Linked DNA regions of Homo sapiens: all the other regions are linked to region 1. The links are contacts of gene promoters, found by promoter capture Hi-C in human tissues and cell types (Jung and others, 2019). All regions are on one chromosome and are shown on one strand. Each heading gives the region's core, a stretch centred on a gene start or on the middle of the fragment in contact. The rest is flanking DNA. Distances are from core to core; before and after follow the strand shown.

Region 1 (3,916 bases), core at 996-3,495:
AGGTGGGATTACAGGCACATGCCACCATGCCCGGCTAATTTTTGTATTTGTTGTAGAGATGGGGTTTCACCACATTGCCCAGAATGGTCCTGTACTCCCGAGCTCAAGCAATCCACCCACCTCAGCCTCCCAAAGTGCTGGGATTACAGGCATGAGCCACCACGCCTGGCCCACCACAGCCCCTTTCCAACTGAAATTTAATCTTTTCTGATTTCCTATCTTTGTGTGTGTGTGTGTGTGTGTGTGTGTGTGTGTGTCTCACTCTGTTGCCCAGGCTGGAGTGCTGGAGTGCAGTGGTGCGATCTCAGCTCATCGCAACCTCCCCCTCCTGGGTTCAAGCGATTCTCCCGCCTCAGCCTCCTGAGTAGCTGGGATTACAGGTGAGCACCACCACGCCCGGCTAATTTTTGTATTTTTAGTAGAGACAGGGTTTCACCATGTTGGCCAGACTGGTCTCGTACTCGTAACCTTAGGTGATCCACTTGCCTCTGCCTCCCAAAGTGCTGGGATTACAGGGGTGAGCCACCATGCCTGACCCCTATTCGTTGTTAATACCTTTACAAACTCACCACATTCTGTCACTTGTAATCATTATTTGTGTCCCTGTTCATTTCTCATTAGGCCATAAATTACATGAGGACAGCAACCATATAGTTTAAGTTTCTATCTCCCAGAAAAGTTATCACAGTGCTTTAAATACAGCAAGCATAAAAATGTTGGCTAAATTCAACATTTGTTTGAGTGAGATGGAACAAGAAAACAGGGGCAGGGATAGGGGGAGTAACCCCATCAACTTCAATGCTGTACATTTTTACATCTATCCAATTTCCCCCATGCATGACCTGAAATACTTGGTGTAGAGTACCTGTTTTGCACAAAGGAGGCCACCTTACTGGAAAGAAGGCAGAGCATTGAGGAGGAACCAAGAGCAAGGAGAGGTGGGCACTTTAGGAACTGAGAACTAAAAATCAGCTCTCCATTAGTTGCTGTAAACGTTTAATCACTCTCAACATAAAATTTTCTGTGTGGTTAATAGAGTCAGACAGACCTGTTTGAATCCCAAATCTGACGCTCATTATTTGACCTTAGCCAAACTGGTTAACCAATCCAAGTCTCAGTTTCTTCATCTGCCAAAAGGGAACGATAAATGTATACTTGATACAGATGTGAGGGTGAAATGAGCTAACGTATGTGAAGCCCTCAGCACAGTGTCTGGCATAATAAAATAGGAGCTGTTCCTCTCCGTTGGAATAGTAGGGCAGGACTTGTGCAACACTGTGATGGGAAAACAAAGATAAAGGCAGAACAGAGTGCAACACATTAGGAACATTTCAGGGGAGGTTACCTAGAAGGGCCACTACATTCTTCTCAGGACTAAATCCCTCCTGACTGTTGTCTTCACCCCAATCCTGGAAAACTCACCGTCACCCCATATTTGAGTGCTAGTCCAGCCAGGGTGTCTCCGGGCTCCAACTGATGCTCCAGGCGTCTTTCCCTCACTGGGGAGCAGGCCGATTGCACCAGGCTTCCATATGAACGAGCCCGGCTCCCTTGAAGCAGTCCTGACCCCCCTGGCGGGGGCTGTCTAGACGGGGAAGCCATCTCTTCACCCTGCCAACAGCTAAGGTTGCAACTAGGGGAGGTACGACCGAGACTGCGACTGACAGGCCTGAAGTCTGGGAATGAATATTCAGGGGATTCCTTTCCCCCTCTCTCTTCCCCTGTGTCCCCGCCTCCCCAGCACTACGCCATCTGCCCCCTCCCGGTTTCTCCTCCCTCCAAGCTACTTATCCACAAATCTGTCCCTTGAGTATTCAGTCCCTCCCTAATTCTCCCCTAAGCACCCCTCCGACTTTGGACTCCCCCACAACTCCTCGCTACATTGACCTCTGACCTTTGAACTCTAGAAATAATCCTCAACACTCTTTCCTCAGTTTGCCCCCAAGTAGCCTGGCCTCAGGGCGCTCCAACATCCCAGCTCTCCCCGGTCCCGGGGTTTGTTTGCTAGAGTCAGGAACAAATCAGGCCCACCCCAGGTGAACTGTCGCCGCAGACGAAGAGCGTGAGGATTGCAAGAATTTGTAGTACACCTTCCACTCAGAGATCCTCAAAGGTCCGCTCCGCATAAGATAGGTCACACCCTCAAATTTCGGCTCCACATCTAGGTTGTTGTCCCTCCAAACGCCTCAGATCCGCCAAGATGCAAGGGCCTGGATCCAGTTGAGCGGCAAGGTCTTTGAGAAAAGACTTCATTTCCCAAAAGGCTCCGCGTCTGCGGAGTCGCAGGGCACCATAGGAAATGCAGTTCCCTCCGAGCACCAGAGAGTGGATTTCCGGATCGCGCAATGCATGCGTGGAAGTGCGTCCCCGGAAGTACGGAGGCCGACAGGAAGAGAAGGAAAAAAGAGAAGGCGCTGTCCCGCTCTTGCTACGGTGGCCTGGAGGAGTGGCGAAACCGGAACAGAGAATTTATCACTTCTGGGACTCACAGTCGTGATGTCTTTCAAGAGGGAAGGAGACGATTGGAGTCAACTCAATGTGCTCAAAGTAAGCGTGAGCGGAGAGGATCTGGAGCCGCTTCAGTCGCTCCCTGAAGGTTGGGAAGGAGCTTTGTTTCATTGCTCTGGCAACAACTCGGGGGTGCAGGAGAGAACCAGGCGACTTAGAGCTGTGTAGTGACTCCTTTTTCGGTCTATGATCGCTGTTCTCCCCAGGGTCCTTATTCCATTTCACTCCTCATTTCTATAATTTCACTTCCACCCCTCTCTCCTATCCCGCTGATCCCGTCCGGATTTCTTCCCCTACTCCCTGCAGAAAAGAAGAGTCGGGGACCTCCTAGCCAGTTACATTCCAGAGGATGAGGCGCTGATGCTTCGGGATGGACGGTAAGAGCAAGGAGTGGCTCAAGCCTGAGGGTTCTGCGGTTAGAGGCTCAATAGACTTTTTTTTTTTTTTCCTTTGAGACGGAGGTCTCGCGGTGCTGCCCAGGCTGCCCTCGAACTCTAGGGCTCAAGTGATCCTGCCTCCTCAGCGTCGCGATTAGCTGGGTTTACAAGCGCATGCCACCACGCCTGGCTTCAACAAACTTTTGTTATTAATTAGGACAGCAGGAGTACCTAGGATTCTTTGGCGGCCAGTGAGGACTGGAAGAAGTGGAGATTGGGTCACCAGGGAGTTGGGTTTTGCAAAGACTGCTAGGACAGGGTGGGACCTATGGCAGGGACGGGCCCAACCCTCTTCCCCTGGACCACTTATCCTCTTCTCTACCCCTGCTCAGCTTTGCTTGTGCCATCTGCCCCCATCGACCGGTACTGGACACCCTGGCCATGCTGACTGCCCACCGTGCAGGCAAGAAACATCTGTCCAGTAAGTTAGGGGGAAGACGGGATGGGGAATAAACCCTCGAAATCTCTGCACACCACTCTTGGTGCTATGCTTTTAATTCTGTTTCCCTTTCTCCTCAGGCTTGCAGCTTTTCTATGGCAAGAAGCAGCCGGGAAAGGAAAGAAAGCAGAATCCAAAACATCAGAATGAATTGAGAAGGGAAGAAACCAAAGCTGAGGTAATCAGAGAGTGGAGAGTGTGTTCTAGGCAAGACCCTGCTGCACACACCAGGCTGGAAGGGCGGAGGGCTGAAGGCTCTGACTCTGTCTCCCATCTCCTTACCAGGCTCCTCTGCTAACTCAGACACGACTTATCACCCAGAGTGCTCTGCACAGAGCTCCCCACTATAACAGTTGCTGCCGCCGGAAGTACAGGTATGGGACGGGAAAGCCAGAGGTAGGAAGGCTCAGAAGGAGACAGATGGCTCTAAAAGAGTTTTCCAGTGTGTATTCTGAGGAATACTAGTGTTCTGGAGATGTTACTTAGTGTTTCAAGAAAAGGAGAATTTTGGCTGGGCGCGGTGACTCACGCC
Region 2 (3,916 bases), core at 563-3,062, 860 kb before region 1:
TTTCTTTGTCTAAGATTGTCTATACCCCTTTTTATCTGCCTCTTTTAAAAATCCTTGTCCAGCCACTATATTTTTAATTTAATCAACACTCAGTTTTTGCTTTTCCTGTTTTTTTTTCTGTTTTTTGTTTGTTTGTTTGTTTGTTTGTTTGAGACGATGTCTCGCTCTTGTCCCCCAAGCTGGAGTGCAGTGGCATGATCTCGGCTCACTGCAACCTCCGCCTCCCAGGTTCAAGTGATTCTCCTGCCTCAGCCCCCCGTGTAGCTGGGATTACAGGCACTTGCCACCACGCCTGGCTAGTTTTGGTATTTTTAGTAGAGACGGGGTTTCACCATGTTGGCCAGGCTGGTCTCGAACTCCTGACCTCAGGTGATCCACCCGCCTCTGTCTCCCAAAGTGCTGGGATTACAGGTGTGAGCCACCACACCCAGCCCACATACTACTTTTATGGTTCTCTTTTTGTTGGTGACTGGCATTTTACACAAACCTATTTCCTGGGTCGAAGTGTTAATATTAGAGAGCCGGAGAGTGGTCAGTGTGACACCCTGTGGTTTCAACCCTGGCTGCCTATTAGGATCACCTAGGGAACGAACCATCAAGAAAACAAAACTAATGCCAGGGCCCAATCTGAGATGAATCAGAATCTCCAGGGGTTGCAACCTGGATGGCAGCATTTTAAAAAACATACCATGAGATTTCACCAGGATTGAAAATTATTATAATAGACTTGTAGCCTCCTGGCTGGGCACAGTGACTCATGCCTGTAATCCCAGCACTTTGGGAGGCTGAGGGGGGCGGATCATTTGAGGTTAGGAGTTCAAGACCAGCCTGGCCAACATGGTAAAACCCCGTCTCTACTAAAAATATAAAAATTAGCCGGGTATGATGGTGCATACCTGTAATCCCAGCTATTCGGGAGGCTGAGGCAGGAGAATCGCTTGAACCTGGGAGCTGGAGGTTGCAGTGAGCCGAGATCGCGCCACTGCACTCCAGCCTGGGTGACAAAGTGAGACCCTGTCTCAAAAAAAAAAAGGCTTGTAGCCTCCTTAAGGACAGAAACCTATGCTTTTTCATTTGTGTATCTCTTGGATTTACCAAAGTGTCTGGCACATCCAAAGCTCTCATTAAATGTCTACTTAATGAACATAAATGTTCCTTTATCTTTTTTGTCACTTATTTAATGTTTGTCAAACTTTTTTACTGAAGTGTCGTTAACAGCAGAGGAGAGTGAATGAACTATAGGGGTTCTGCTACTATAAGCAAACATGGAATTTCTTTGAAGCTTCCCTAAATTAAAATGTAAGGTGAACTTCGTATTCGTTGCCATTGCATCTGTTTTATGGGTAACACCCCCACTCCTTCGAGTTAAAATTGGTGCCTCCAGGCAGATGCATCAAATTTGTCCAGAAACTTGTATCCTTTGGCATTCTGTTAATTACCCTGGTTAAGAAGCACAGTATTACCTTTTCTTCAGGGATTAAAACACCAAAGTAGGAGTAGGATTTGGAAAAAAGCAATTTACATTGCTTAAAAAGAAAAGAATTATATTCTTTTCTTTTTAAGAAAGAAGAGGAGTGGTTAGAAAAATAAATTTGGCCAGGCGCGGTGGCTCACCCCTGTAAGCTCAGCACTTTGGGAGGCCGAGGCGGGTGGATCATCTGAGGTCAGGAGTTCAAGACCAGCCTGGCCAACATGATGAAACCCTGTCTCTACTAAAAAAAATACAAAAATTGGCCGGGCGCGGTGGCTCATGCCTGTAATCCCAGCACTTTGGGAGGCTGAGGGGGGCGGATCACGAGGTCAGGAGATCGAGACCATCCTGGCTAACACAGTGAAACCCCGTCTCTACTAAAAATACAAAAAATTAGCTGGGCGCCGTGGCGGGCGCCTATAGTCCCAGCTACTCGGGAGGCTGAGGCAGGAGAATGACGTGAACCCGGGAGGCGGAGCTTGCAGTGAGCCAAGATGGCGCCATTGCACTCCAACCTGGGGGACGAGAGCGAGACTTCGTCTCAAAAGAAAAAAAATTAGCCGGACATGGTGGCAGGTGCCTGTAATCCCAGCTACTCAGGAGGCTGAGGCAGGAGAATCGCTTGAACCCAGGAGGCGGAGGTTCCAGTGAGCCGAGATCGCGCCATTCATTGCACTCCAGCCTGGGGGACGAGAGCGAGACTTCGTCTCAAAAAAGGAAAAGAAATTCAAGTCCCATAGACTCAGAGTCCCATAAATTGTATTATAGCTTCGCGGGGCAGGGGGGAAATGAACAAATATTTCAGTCTTAGAATAATTTTCTTTTTCCTTTCTTTTTTTTTTAATACGGAGTCTCTCTCTGTTGCCCAGACTGCGTGGTCTCGCCTCACTGCAACCTCTGTCTCCCGGGTTCAAGTGATTCTCCTGCCTCAGCCTCCCGAGTAGCTGGGATTACAGGCACCTGCCACCACGTCCGGCTAATTTTTTGTAGTAGAGACGGGGTTTCACGATGTTGGCCAGGCTGGTCTCAAACTCCTGACCTCATGATTGGCCCGCCCGGCCTCCCAAAGCGCTGGGATTACAGGGGTGAGCCACCGTGCCCGGCCTCTTAGAATAATTTTCTAGGTAAGGACTTTCAAGCTTGCATACGTGAGCAGACTGATTTTGGAGTGATCCAATCTTCTGTTTTCCTGCTGCCTGTTAAACACATTTTCTGACTGATGCACTTTTCTGTTTCTTCTTTTTCTCTGCTTTTCCCAAATGTCCTCTCTCTAGCCACTTTTTCTGTATATCTTTCTCACACTCCAGGCCTCTCCTGATCTCTTTCAGCTTTCTCATAGCTGGTAGTTTAAAAATAATTTGCTTGTTCTGTGGTCTAATTACAACAATAGGTAGGAGAGCAAATGAGTCTAGAGGGAGGTGATTAAAGCTTTACCATGTTTGGAGTACAGAGAGAGTCTTACAAAGGAAATAGCCTACGTGTCTGTCCAGTGAGGCCACCACAAAATGCCTGTTATATAACTGGGGGCCCTCATTGGTGCCCCGGGATGAGAAGGTGGAGAGTGGGGGTTGCTAGGAAGCCCTGCATGATTGGCTGGCCCCCAAGCAAAGAAAGGTGAGTACACTGGAAGCATGCCCTGTTGACTCCTTTTACTCCTAGTGGGCTACCTTCTGGGTCCATTGAGTCCTTCTGCATACACGTCTGTCCTGACGTAGACTGGCTACACTGACATGTGAGTCTGCCACCCGCACCTCCCCCCGCTCCAGGCAGCTTGGCTCCTTTTACATAATCATTTGAATTTCACTAAAACTGGCAGCTGGTTTCTCCTTCAGTATTAGGTTGCCAGGCGCCCGAACTCCAGGCTGATCTGTTTACTCTAAAGCTCTTGATGTACTAGTCCTTGAACTACTTTTGGAAGCAGAAGGAAGCATCATTAGTAACACCCCCTCTATTCTTGTGTTTTACAAAGCTTTTCTTGCATCCTTTTCTGTTAGAGGTAAAGTTGAGTAGATACCTCTACTATAGGGACTCTGGGGCATTTGAAGATAATCTGTGCCTTTTTTAGTATGACTAGAACGTGTCGGGTAAGGGAGGGAATCCTCACCTGGCATCTTGGAATTTATTTGGTCTGTGTTTTGGAAGTAAGTAGTACATCCAGGGAATGCCATTTACCAACCCCCATCATTATATTCTTTCTTTTCCCTTCACCATTCTTATGTTCTTTTGTTATTCTTTTTCCTTGTCTTGCCCTTTTGCCTGACAGTACAGGCATTTCCTTGGTAAGATGATCACCTTTGTTTTAGAAGCCTTTTGGAACTCCAGTAGGGTTCCTTGAGTCATACTCAACCCCTTCCTCCTCTTGCAGTGTTGTTTCATCCTACTTTTAAACTGTCTTTGTCATTCCAATAGGTTCGTCTTCCTAGGTCATATTTACTCAGGGTCTCT
Region 3 (3,916 bases), core at 648-3,147, 800 kb before region 1:
TACTGCTCTGTATGATACTGTAATGGTGGATACATGCACATTTGTCCAAACTCAAGGTATAACACCAAGAGCGAACCCTAATGTAAACTATGGGCTTTGGGTGATAATGTGTCAGTGTAGGTTTGTCAGTTGTAACAGATGTATCGTTCTGGTGCGTGACATTGATAATGGGGGAGGGTATTCATGTGTGGGGGCAGGTGGTATATGGAATTCCTTGTGCTTTCCACACAATTGCCGTGAATCTAAAACTGCTCTAAAAATAGTCTATAAAAAAGTGGGTCTTTGGCTAGAGTTACAGAAAAAAAAAAAATGTGGGGTCAGGACCAGGCATGGCGGCTCAAGCTTATAATCCCAGCACTTCGGGAGGCTGAAAGCAGGAGGACTGCTTGAGGCTAGGAGTTTGAGACCAGCCTGGGCAACATAGGGAGACTCCCCCTCTCAAAAAAATGTTGTTGTTGTTGTTTTGTTTTTTTAGCTAGGTGTGGTGGTGCAGGCCTGTAGTCCCAGCTACTTGTGCTGCTGAGGCAGGAGGACCACTTGAGTCTGGGGGATTGAGGCTGCTGTGCGATATGATAGTGCCACTGCACTCTAGCCTTGGCAGGGACAGAGCGAGACTGTATTTTAGAGCCTTTGCACTTGCTGTTCCTAATGCCAGCATGTTCCGCTCCCCGTCTCGCATATCTGCTTGGTTGCTTTTTTCTCAATGTTCAGATCGAGTTATTTCTTTCGAGAAGACTTCCTGGTTCACCATACCACCATTCTTATACTGGCGCGTGCGTGCCGTGCACACGTACACACACGCGCGCACACACACACACCCCTTTCTCCCTTACCCTGCTTCACCTTTTTACAGAATTTAATACTGTCTGAAATGTACTTGTTGGTGGTGTCCTGCCACTAAATCCCGGAGGGAACGGATTTTTGTCTGTTTTGCTCCCCATGATCTAAAACAGTACTTGGCACAAGAGGTTCAACAACTCGTTGAATTAATGAATAGTGGACATGAACTTGACAAAACAGGTTCCCTGCCTCAAGAGGCATGGCCGCAGTGAGGAGACGTTAAAAGAATTAAAACTGTATATGTTTAGTGGGAACACAGGAGCCTTTAAATTAGCTCAGAGGATTTACATAGATACCTGCGATAAAATGGTTCGTATAAGGTTCATATAATAGTTACGTAAGACTCTTGAAAACTGTAATGTATTATGCAATTTTAAGATTGTATCATAGCTGGCGAAAATGAGGTCACATCTTGCCATTCTTTTTTCGCCTCGAAAAATTTTATGAGGAAAATTTCCTTTCACTTCCTCATTTATTTCCTTTTCCTGTAACCTAAATGGTCAAGCGGCTGTGAATGTTATCTTCTATGGGCAGCAATAAATACGGTTTGGTGTCGGAGTCTGCGTAGTGAATGGCTCACTGGATCTGGCGCATGCGCATCTTTTGTGGTGCCGCAAGATGGCTGCCAGCCATTTTGTCGCGCGTTGCTCCTCCGAGGAGTTGGGGGCGATGGCTGCAGCCCCCTGAAGACTAACAGTGGTCTCAGTGGTGGGAATTTTCTGTCTCTGTTGTGTGAGCTGAACACACCCAAGAGAGCGGCCAAAAGCAGCAAAGGGCGGGGCAGGGGAACCCCCCCACCCGGCTAACCTTAGTTATACCAGCTCCCTCACCCATCCCTCCCAGTTTTTCCTTCCATCCCGTTACACGCTTATCTTCTGCGCAGGCGCAAAAATAATCGTAGCGCCTCCTGGGCCCTGGGGGCTTCAGAGCTCCTGCGCGCGCTTGTGGTTCTCCACTCCTGATTGGTCAGGTTGCCCCGCCATCACGCCTCCCTCTGCTTTCAAGGTTGAGAAGGAAGCAGGGGTAGGGGGGTGGGGCCAAGTGGCGCGTGCGCGATACTGTTGCTGCCCCTTTGCTGCTATTGCGTTGCAAAAAAAATCCTGACTAGGTAGCCTTGGACCTTTTCTGTGCTAGCGAGTCTAAAGGAAAGAAAGATTTCTGCAACTGAAGGGGCAGTCGGGTAGTATTACATTTAAGATATTAACGCCCGACCTGGCTCACAGGAGTGTGGGAACAGGGGCGGGGAAGGGCCTTAGCACTGAGAGCCGAAAAGTATAAAACGATTAGTTTCGGCGTCAGGCGTTTTGAAAGGCTTTGCAGGTCCTGTTTTCTGCGTAATTTTTCCGTGATTACTGACTGGTTTAAACACGACCCCTTGAACAATATTGATAAAACCTCCGAGACCCGCAGCCCCTCCTTGCAGCGTGTAGGAGCTGCCAGCGTGCCCAGCAGCTGGTGTTCCCGTCCGTACCTCCAGAAGAGCCCAGCGCGTGCACCATCCCCACCCCCTAGCTTCCCTCCCCACCTACGGCTTTCACGCACTCGCAGTGATTGTTTTGCCCGCTCCCGCCGCCGCCGCCGCCGCCGCCGCCAGAGGAGCAGCAGCGCTTGTGCAAACCGGGAAGATGGCGGCCGGCGGCGGCGGAGGCAGCAGTAAGGCCTCCTCCTCGTCGGCCTCTTCGGCAGGGGCTCTGGAGTCCTCGTTGGATCGAAAATTCCAGTCGGTAACCAACACCATGGAGTCCATTCAAGGCTTGTCGTCTTGGTGTATAGAGAACAAAAAACACCACAGTACTATCGTCTATCATTGGATGAAGTGGCTCCGGAGATGTGAGTGTTGGGGGTGACTAGGGAAGGGAAGACTGGGGAAATGGAAGGAAGTGTGGCCTGAAACGCTTGGGGTTTTCCCACGGAGCCGCAGCATTTGGTTGGGGTTGTTCACATTAAAGGTTTGACCCCAGTGGTCCCAAACCCAGACTCCATTCCTAGCCAGGATTGTCCTGAATTGCAGGAGACTCATTTCTTGGGTTTTTTAGCCATTGAATTGTTGTGACCTTGGGCCGTTGGGCCCAGATCCATGGAGATTTACGTATATTGTTTTTAATATTTCAGAGCCTTGTAAGGTGTATTGATTTTTCCGAACCTTCGCGGAAATTGTAGCGTCTGTTTATTTCTTACAGGCCTTGACGTGTTAATGATTTCTGGCTTTCCTGATGGTAGGCGAGCTGTGGTTTTAAGCAGTAGTAAATCCAGTGATGTTTAATGAGGAGTGCCTTGTCTGGATGAATGTATCTAAAACTTGTGATGTGTAGTAAGGAGAGCCTTACCTGGATGAATGTTAAGAAGCAGCATGAGCTCTACATAGATCTGAGGCACCACCGGGTTTTCCCTGTACCTGTGTTTGCTGCAATAAAATACAGGTTTCTTGGATACTGACCAGAAACAACTGCGATACAGTAGTCAGTATCATCGTTAATACCTTCAAATATAAAGCGTGTCCAGTTCCTCTTTTTTTTTGAGACGGAGTTTTGCTCTTGTCGCCCAGGCTGGAGTGCAGTGGCGCGATCTCGGCTCACTGCAACCTCCACCTCCCGGGTTCAAGCGATTCTCCTGTCTCAGCCTCGCGAGTAGTCGGGATTACAGGCGCCCGCCACCATGTCCGGCTAATTATTTGTATTTTTAGTAGAGACGGGGTTTCATCATTGTGGCCTGGCTGGTCTCGAACTCCCGACCTCAGGTGATCCACCTGCCTCGGCCTCCCAAAGTGCAGGGATTACAGACGTGAGCCCCCCGTGCCCGGCCCCGTTACTTTTTAATTACCTGAAATACCTTTTTACACAATTGAGTTGATCTCATGGGTAATGTGCACAGGAAATGTGCTTTTTGAATATGTAGTACCTTTTTCTCCAGTTATGTTTTTTTTGTCTTTATCCTGGAGATTTTTCCATTTTGCTGCTTTACTGCAGAAACGAGCTCTGTTAAAGCATGGATTGTTTGCAGAACGTTTCAAATCTTATAGGAGGAAGTGTGGAGAAGTTACTGTTTCCTGCTGAGAAGAGAGGGTTAACTCATACTC

The links. The method cuts DNA at HindIII sites, captures the fragments that hold promoters and counts their contacts. A contact is called where the count stands out against the background at its distance.
Region 2: a fragment that was not itself captured here is called in contact with the fragment with the promoter of LYSMD1 in region 1 in 3 of the 25 tissues and cell types used here (dorsolateral prefrontal cortex, lymphoblastoid cells and spleen).
Region 3: the fragment with the promoter of RPRD2 here is called in contact with the fragment with the promoter of LYSMD1 in region 1 in 1 of the 25 tissues and cell types used here (dorsolateral prefrontal cortex).

What each region holds. Positions count from the first base shown.
Region 1 is chr1:151,163,657-151,167,572 of GRCh38, forward strand. It overlaps LYSMD1 (LysM domain containing 1), which reads right to left and starts at 2,246. Exons shown (of 3, transcript NM_212551.5): 1 at 1,423-2,246. The coding sequence starts at 1,602. TNFAIP8L2-SCNM1 (TNFAIP8L2-SCNM1 readthrough) reads left to right here. Exons shown (of 7, transcript NR_144937.2): 2 at 2,815-2,885; 3 at 3,278-3,366; 4 at 3,465-3,562; 5 at 3,670-3,758. It overlaps SCNM1 (sodium channel modifier 1), which reads left to right and starts at 2,488. Exons shown (of 7, transcript NM_024041.4): 1 at 2,488-2,547; 2 at 2,815-2,885; 3 at 3,278-3,366; 4 at 3,465-3,562; 5 at 3,670-3,758. The coding sequence starts at 2,497. RefSeq lists enhancers at 1,728-2,433, 2,187-2,466, 2,434-3,140, 2,487-2,536. The HindIII fragment of the contact is 12,820 bases long and covers 1-3,916 here.
Region 2 is chr1:150,299,322-150,303,237 of GRCh38, forward strand. All of the region lies in intron 2 of MRPS21 (mitochondrial ribosomal protein S21), which reads left to right. Among named protein-coding and RNA genes, the nearest start is that of MRPS21, 7.4 kb to the left of the region's middle. The HindIII fragment of the contact is 5,855 bases long and covers 1-3,916 here.
Region 3 is chr1:150,362,250-150,366,165 of GRCh38, forward strand. It overlaps RPRD2 (regulation of nuclear pre-mRNA domain containing 2), which reads left to right and starts at 1,898. Exons shown (of 11, transcript NM_015203.5): 1 at 1,898-2,670. The coding sequence starts at 2,466. RefSeq lists enhancers at 193-1,135, 1,116-1,185, 1,346-1,655, 2,406-2,685, 3,169-3,458. The HindIII fragment of the contact is 19,991 bases long and covers 1-3,916 here.